2 separate regions of the Homo sapiens genome follow, and region 1 is linked to region 2. The links are contacts of gene promoters, found by promoter capture Hi-C in blood cells and fetal thymus (Javierre and others, 2016). All regions are on one chromosome and are shown on one strand. Each heading gives the region's core, a stretch centred on a gene start or on the middle of the fragment in contact. The rest is flanking DNA. Distances are from core to core; before and after follow the strand shown. Region 1 overlaps POM121C (POM121 transmembrane nucleoporin C). Region 2 holds the start of STYXL1 (serine/threonine/tyrosine interacting like 1).

What was found. The method cuts DNA at HindIII sites, captures the fragments that hold promoters and counts their contacts. A CHiCAGO score of 5 or more calls a contact.
Region 1: a contact is called between a fragment that was not itself captured here and the fragment with the promoter of STYXL1 in region 2, in 2 of 17 cell types (erythroblasts and fetal thymus). The highest score is 7.4, in erythroblasts.

The regions. Positions count from the first base shown.
Region 1 is chr7:75,427,350-75,430,997 of GRCh38, forward strand. All of the region lies in intron 7 of POM121C (POM121 transmembrane nucleoporin C), which reads right to left. Among named protein-coding and RNA genes, the nearest start is that of TRIM73, 34 kb to the left of the region's middle. The HindIII fragment of the contact is 2,729 bases long and covers 494-3,222 here.
Region 2 is chr7:76,046,237-76,049,956 of GRCh38, forward strand. It overlaps STYXL1 (serine/threonine/tyrosine interacting like 1), which reads right to left and starts at 1,764. Exons shown (of 9, transcript NM_001317785.2): 1 at 1,426-1,764. It overlaps MDH2 (malate dehydrogenase 2), which reads left to right and starts at 1,870. Exons shown (of 9, transcript NM_005918.4): 1 at 1,870-1,990. The coding sequence starts at 1,925. RefSeq lists enhancers at 1,237-2,019, 1,465-1,554, 1,665-1,744, 2,020-2,801 and a silencer at 1,995-2,154. The HindIII fragment of the contact is 1,459 bases long and covers 1,274-2,732 here.

The DNA of each region.
Region 1 (3,648 bases), core at 608-3,107, 620 kb before region 2:
GCGTAAACCTGGGGGGCGGAGCTTGAAGTGAGCCAAGATCGTGCCACTGCACTCCAGCCTGGGTGACAGAGTGAGACTCTGTCTCAAAAAGAAACAAAAAACAAAAACAAAAACAAAAAAAGCACTGTCATAATATTTATGACTTTTGCAACAACGATGGCATTTATCATCATGTGATGATTATCCATACATCTGCCTCTTCCACCAGGTGAGTTCTTGACAGCAAAGATGGTGTTTTCATCTCTGCTTCCTCCACAGACCAGCAGCAAAGTAGATGGCACAGAGCGGACACTGCAAATAGTCTCGTAAGTGCTGAGCCTAATTACAAAGCCACTAAACTGTCACCTCAGACCGTCTTTCCTACTTGAAAAGCTGCTAGTGATTTCTTACCCAGTACCAGCTACATCATATAAGTACAAACAGGAAGCCAACAAGCTTAATAAGTACAAACAGGAAGCCAAGCTTAATAAGAGTTCAAAAAGGGAAAAGAGGAAGCTTCAGACAAGTGGTAAGCAGCAGAACAGTTCAGTGAGGCCATCATCAGGAAGCCGGGCCCAGGAGGAGCTTGAGAAGACTGCTCACGGCAATAACAGTTGAAGTTACGCTCAAACAGCAAGAAAGGCCAGAGCACAATGGTTTAAAAAACATGGGATTACAGGCATATAAAAGAGCAGAATACAAAAACTCATCAAAGGGATCCAAGGATTGAATATATAAGCGGCATTTTCAATCACTTCAGATCCCTGACACTACCTCGCTGGTTCTCACACGACGGCTCATCAGTCACCTGTGGAACTTTTTTTTTTTTTGAGACGGAGCCTTGCTCTGTCACCAGGCTGGAGTGCAGTGGCACGATCTCACCTCACTGCAACCTCCGCCTCCCTGGTTCAAGCGATTCTCCTGCCTCAGCCTCCTGAGTAGCTGGGACTACAGGAGCATGCCACCACAGCCGGCTAATTTTTGTATCTTTAGTAGAGATGGGGTTTCACCATGTTGGCCAGGATGGTCTTGATCTCTTGACCTCGTGATCTGCCCGCCTTGGCCTCCCAAAGCACTAGGATTACAGGTGTGAGCCACCACGCTTAGCCACCTGTGGAACTTTAAAAGCACATAGATGGCCAAGTGCAGTGGCTCATGCCTGTAATCCTAGCACTTTGGGAGACTGAGGCAGGAGAACTGCTTGAGCCCAGGAGTTTCAGACCAGCCTGGGCAACACAGAAAGACCCTATCTGTAGTTAAAGTAATAAAATTAAAACAAAACCATAAACCTTGCATTTTTGTTCACAATGTGCTCCAGACACTGAGGGATACACATCACTGAGCAAGCAAGGGTCAGAAATGCCAAAGGGGCCGGATGAGGTGGCTCATGCCTGTAATCCCAGCACTTCAGGAGGCTGAGGCAGGAGGATCACCTGAGGTCAGGAGTTCGAGAACAGTGTGGCCAACATGGTGAAACCTCATCTCTACTAGAAATACAAAAATTAGCCAGGTGTGGTGGTGCATGCCTGTAATCCCAACACTTTGGGAGGCCAAGGTGGGAGGATCACTTGAGCCCAAGAGTTTTGAGACCAGCCTAGGCAATATAGTGAGGTCTCTTCAAGGAAAAAAAAAAAAAAAAGCCAAAGGTGACTGTAATGATTAGCTAGGACTGGAAGACAACTGGTCAACTGGTTTAACAATTAGGGGAAAAAAGTTATTACTCCTCTACTTCATTGACTGTACGTACACACTCATTTCAGATATAACAAGACAAGGATGTTTATTATTATGTCTATTCAACTCAAAGTCCTAGCCAAGTGCAGTAAGACATAAACAGAATAAGACTGCAGAGGGAAGGAAAAACTCATTATCATAGACATGAGTGTATGTACTAAAATCCTAAAGAACATACAGATTTAGCAAACTTTCTGAATACAAAATCAGTTGTATTTCTAGACACCAGCACAGCCAATCACATTTTGAAGACACTATTTATAATAGCATCAAAACCATATACCTAGGGCCAGGCACTGTGGCTCATGCCTATAATCCCAGCACTCTGGGAAGCAGAGGCAGGTGGATCACTTGAGGTCAGGAGTTTGAGACCAGCCTGGCCAACAAGGTGAAATCCTGTCTCTACTAAAACTCCAAAATTAGCCAGGTGTGGTGGCGCATGCCTGTAATCTCGGCTACTTGGAACGCTGAGGCAGGAGAATCACTTGAACCCGGGAGGTGGAGGGTGCAGTGAGCCGAGATTGTGCCACTGCACTCCAGCCTGGGCGACAGAGCGAGACTCCATCTCACAAAACAAAACAAAAACCAGATACCTAGAAATAAATCTAATACAAGAGAAGTAAAACTTCTACAGAGATGAATTAGAGATAATGTAAATAAATGAAAGAGGTGGGACATGGTGGTTCATGCCTATAATTCCAGCACTCAGAGAGGCCAAGGTGGGAAGACTGCTTGAGCTCAAAAGTTTGAGACCAGCCTAGGCAACACAGTGAGACCTTGTCTCTACTATAAGTTTTTTAAAATTAGCTAGGTGTGGTGATGCATGCCTGTACTCAAAAGGCTGAGGCAGGAGGATTGCTTGAGCCTGGGATTTCAAGGCAGTAGTGAGCTATGATCATGCCACTGCACTCCAGCCTGGGCCACAGAGCAAGACCCCTTGTCTCAAAAGTTAAATAAAGAAATGAATGACATTCCATGTTCATAGATTAGAAGTAAACAAGGTCAATATTATAACAATGTTAACTCCATCCAAAGTAATCAGTAGATGAAAGGCAATCCCAATCAGTATCTCAAAACTTTTTTTTGTGTGTGTGGAAATTGACAAGTTGATCTAAAAATTATATGAAAATGCAAAAGGCCAAGAAACAAGACAGTCCTGAAAAGAAATGAGAAAGGGGGACGACTGACTCTATCAAGACTTAAAGTATAAGGGTAGGGGTAAAACAAAGACTGGTACAAGGGTAGTAAGAAAAATAGTCCAATGGAACAAAAGAAAGTCTAGAAATGGACCCACATATATACGGACACTTAAATTAGACAAAGGCAGTGCTGCAGAGAAATAAGGATGGTCCTTTCAATAAATGTTGCTGAGAGAAATGGGTATTTCTATAGTAAAAAACAAACAAACAAACAAAAAAAACTAATTTTGATCCCAACCTCACACCACACACAAAAATCAATTTCAGGTGGATTATGGATTTACATATGAAAATATTAATAAAATAATAAAGCTTCTAGAAGGTAGCATAGAAGAAAATTATCATGACCTTAGGTTGGACAGGCAAAGATTTCCTAAATACTACACAAACTATGCTAACTACAAGGAAGTAGAATGGCAAGAGCAGGACACTTTTGTTGTAACACATACATGACAGAGAGCTTGTATCTAGAATATATAAAAAGCATATTCAAATCTCTGAGAAAAAGACAACTTAGTAGAAAAGAGCCAAGAGGCCAGGCGCGGTGGCTCATGCCTGTAATCCCAGAACTTTGGGAGACTGAGGTGGGCAGATCATGAGGTCAGGAGATTGAGACCATCCTGGCTAACATGGTGAAACCCTGTCTTTACTAAAAATACAAAAAATTAGCTGGGTGTGGTGGCAGGTGCCCGCAGTCCCAGCTACTCGGGAGGCTGAGGCAGGAGAATGGCGTGAA
Region 2 (3,720 bases), core at 514-3,013:
GAAACACCTACTCTTCCAGCATGTCTCAGCTTATCTGCTGTGTGTGTGTGTGTGTGTGTGTGTGTGTGTGTGTGTGTGTGTGTGTGTGTGTGTGTGTGTGTGTGCGCGCGCGCGCGCGCGCGCTTTTGAGCCGGAGTTTAGCTCTTATCACCCAGGATGGAGTACAATGGCACAATCTTGGCTCACAGCAACCTCCACCTCCTGGGTTCAAGGGATTCTCCTGCCTCAGCCTCCTGAGTAGCTGGGACTACAGGCACACGCCACCATGCCCAGCCAATTTTTGTATATTTAGTAGAGATGGGGTTTCGCCACATTAGCCAGTCTGGTCTCAAACTCCTGACCTCAGGTGATCTGCCCGCCTTGACCTCCCAAAGTGCTGGGATTACAGGCATAAGCCACCACACCCGGCTTTTTTTTTTTTTTTTTTTGAGACAGAGTCTTTCTCCGTCGCCCAAGCTGGAGTACAGTGGGGTTATCTCGGCTCACTGCAACCTCCCTCCACCTCCCGGGTTCAAGCGATTCTCCTGCCTCAGCCTCCGGAGTAGTTGGGGCTACAGGTGTACACCACCACGCTGGGCTAATTTTTGTATTTTTAGTAGAGATGGGGTTTCACCATGTTAGCCAGGCTGGTCATGAACTCCTGGCCTCAAGTGATCGGCCCGCCTCAGCCTCCCAGAGTGCTGGGATTACAGGCATGAGCCACCTTGCCTGGGGGTGTTGTTTAATTTTAAAAATATGTATCAGGCCGGGCGCGGTGGCTCACGCCTGTAATCTCAGCACTTTGGGAGGCCGAGGCGGGTGGATCACGAGGTCAGGAGTTCGAGACCAGCCTGACCAACGTGGTGAAACCCCGTCTCTACTAAAAAAAAAATACAAAAAATTAGCCAGGTGTAGTGGTGCGCTAATCCCAGCTACTCAGGAGAATGAGGCAGGAGAACCACTTGAACCTGACAGGCAGAGGTTGCAGTGAGCCAAGATCGCGCCACTGCACTCCAGCCTGGGCTAGAGAGACTCCGTCTCAAAAAAATAAATAAATTCATACATTTAAGTAATAAACTCATTGTGAGCAAGGAATTCTACTCGACTTTCTGTCTGCGTAAACTCTACAAATCCACTTGGCCTCAGCCACAGTGTCTTTATTCGTAAAGCAGAAACAGTGGGACCGTCAGAGCACTGCCGGGCAGGCGAGAGAAGACAGGAACTGTATGACCACGGAAGTTGTTGTCCCTACAACCTATTTGCTCATCTGGAACACAGAATAGTGGTCCTCTAAAGCTTGCAGGGCTGGAGGTCGCCATTATCAGCAGTGGTGTCACTAAACCTGAACCCAAGGGTCTCTGCAACTTGGGAAACGACGGCCCGGATCTGAGGAGATGGCCCCTTCCTCCCACCCCGCCTAAGGACTCTCAGCCTCCCTGACCCTACCTTTCCGGAGCTCAGAGTCCCCTCTGGCCTCCAAGGGCAGAAGGAATGGGTTTGGCTGAGGTCGGGGGCTCGGGTCTGGGACGCGCTCCACCTCCCCGGCTGCGCGACTATGGCCAGGCTCCCTGTCGGAGCCTCTGCCTGGGGCCCCACCTGGAAAAATGGCTCCTCTAAGGCGCTTCCAGCCTAAAGCCCGTCCTCTTCCACCTCTTGGGTGCAGACTGGCCCTCCCACTCCGACCGCAGGTCCCCCACCGGCCACACAGACGGCTACGCTAGAACCCAGCCAAACACCGGGGTTGCCAGGATGGTCCCACAGCTTTCCTTTCCGACTCCCGGAAGTGGCCGTGATCTCACGAGATCCCGGAGGCGAGCGCGACCGGAAGTCCGGTCACTCTCGCGAGGCCCCAGAGAGCAGGCGCTGGGCAGTGTGGAGGTCGTTGGAGTCACTTCCCCGTCACCAGCTCCTGTGCCTGCCAGTCGGTGCCCCTCCCGCTCCAGCCATGCTCTCCGCCCTCGCCCGGCCTGCCAGCGCTGCTCTCCGCCGCAGCTTCAGCACCTCGGCCCAGGTAGGCCAGACGAGGGGCGGCCTGCAGGCGGAGGCCCCCCGGCCCGGGCCACGTGCGTCCCCGGTTCGCGGGCAGCTCTGACCCTCTCCAGGCCAGCCTGGACCGCAGGGATGCCCGGCACTGGCTGGAGACTGTGGCGCCCGGGGCAGGCCCTGACACTGGCCTGGAGGTGCGGGGGAGAAAGCCGGGGAAAAGGGGGCGAGGTAGTCCCGCTCCAGGGCCGGTCCATTTGTCAGGGTTCCCCCAGGTCTCCCAGATTTCCCAGAGGACCTGCTCTTGGCTTGCACGCCTTCAAGGTTGGGAAACCAGGGCTCTGCATCTGAAAGTAAACTTACGTTTTTTTCTGCAGCGTTCCATTGCTTTGACGTAGCTAATCTCCTTGCAGCATCCGTGTGAGTTGTGCGTGAATAAAAGAAATCGTATACTTCCTAATTCCATAGTATGGACAAACCGAGGCTAGAGAACTGGGCCAGGGTTACAGTCATTTGGCCAGAGGATTAGAATTCAGCGCTTCTGACCTGAAGACGGCTTCCTCTTAACCTTTTTGGAGGATCTCTCCTGCTGTGGGCGGACTGAGCCTGCCGCCAGGTGTCTTAACAGTGCTTGACTTGGCCCGCGACCACTTAAGCCTAGGAGCCTAGGCTATTTTTAGCCATCTTCTAGAATGGTGGTTCTTAAACTCTGCAGTGTGTCAGAATCACCAGAAAGCTAATAAAAAACAGACGTCTGGGTTCATTGAAGAAGCTTAAGACTGCGGGGGGGGGGGGGGGGGTCCGCATTTTTACCAGGTGAATCTAATTAAACCTAATTTTGAGAACCCAGGAGGTGCTCGCATTGCCTTTTAATTACGACGCCCAAGAGGGAGGTAATTTTAAAGGGGAATCCAAATTTATCATCGAAGTTCTCGAGTTTCCTGTACATCCAGTTCATTTGAAAAATAAATACAAATGCTCCTGGATTGATGGCTACTTCCCATACCCATCGCAAGTTGGTAATATCCTAAGTCAAAAGGCGAGTTTAACTTTGTGTATTTTCAACTTGCAATGGGTTCCCACAGGCAACCCCATTGTAAGTTGAATGTACCAAATGCTTTTGCGCTGCGGTGAAGTGGGGGCCCAGCTGTATACAGATAAGTACATTAAGTACCTGTGCTTGCCAACAACTATGCTGGGTGCTGCAGGGGATACCAAGATAAGTGAGAAGTGACACTTGATATGGGACAGGAATGAGTAAACTTAGGACAGGTGGAAGCGATGAAGGTCTTAGGGAATGAGTAAACTTAGGACAGGTGGAGGCGATGAAGGTCTTAGGGAATGAGTAAACAGGACAGGAGGGATGAGGTGTGGGGGAGGGGCAGCCAACCAAAGAGAGGACAGGGGTGTCCAGGGAGAGGTTGAGTTTTGGTAGGACCTTCAGATATCCGACATATTTATTGAGCTAGGTACTGGAAATACAGCGGTGAACAAAACACAGAAGTCCCTGCTCTCACGGAAATTACTAGATATTTTACTTATTGCCCCACTCATTATAAAGTATCTTAAAATAGTGATGAACATGCAAGAAAAATGGGGATTGTAGGGTGCTTGTGTTAGGGAAGAGGGTACCAATTTTATTTACTTTTTTTGATGCAGTGCCTCGCCCTGTCGACAGGCTGGAGTGCAGTGGCGTGATCTCGGTTCACTGCAGCCTCCACCTCCCAGGTTGGAGCGATTCTCCTGCCTCAGCCTCCC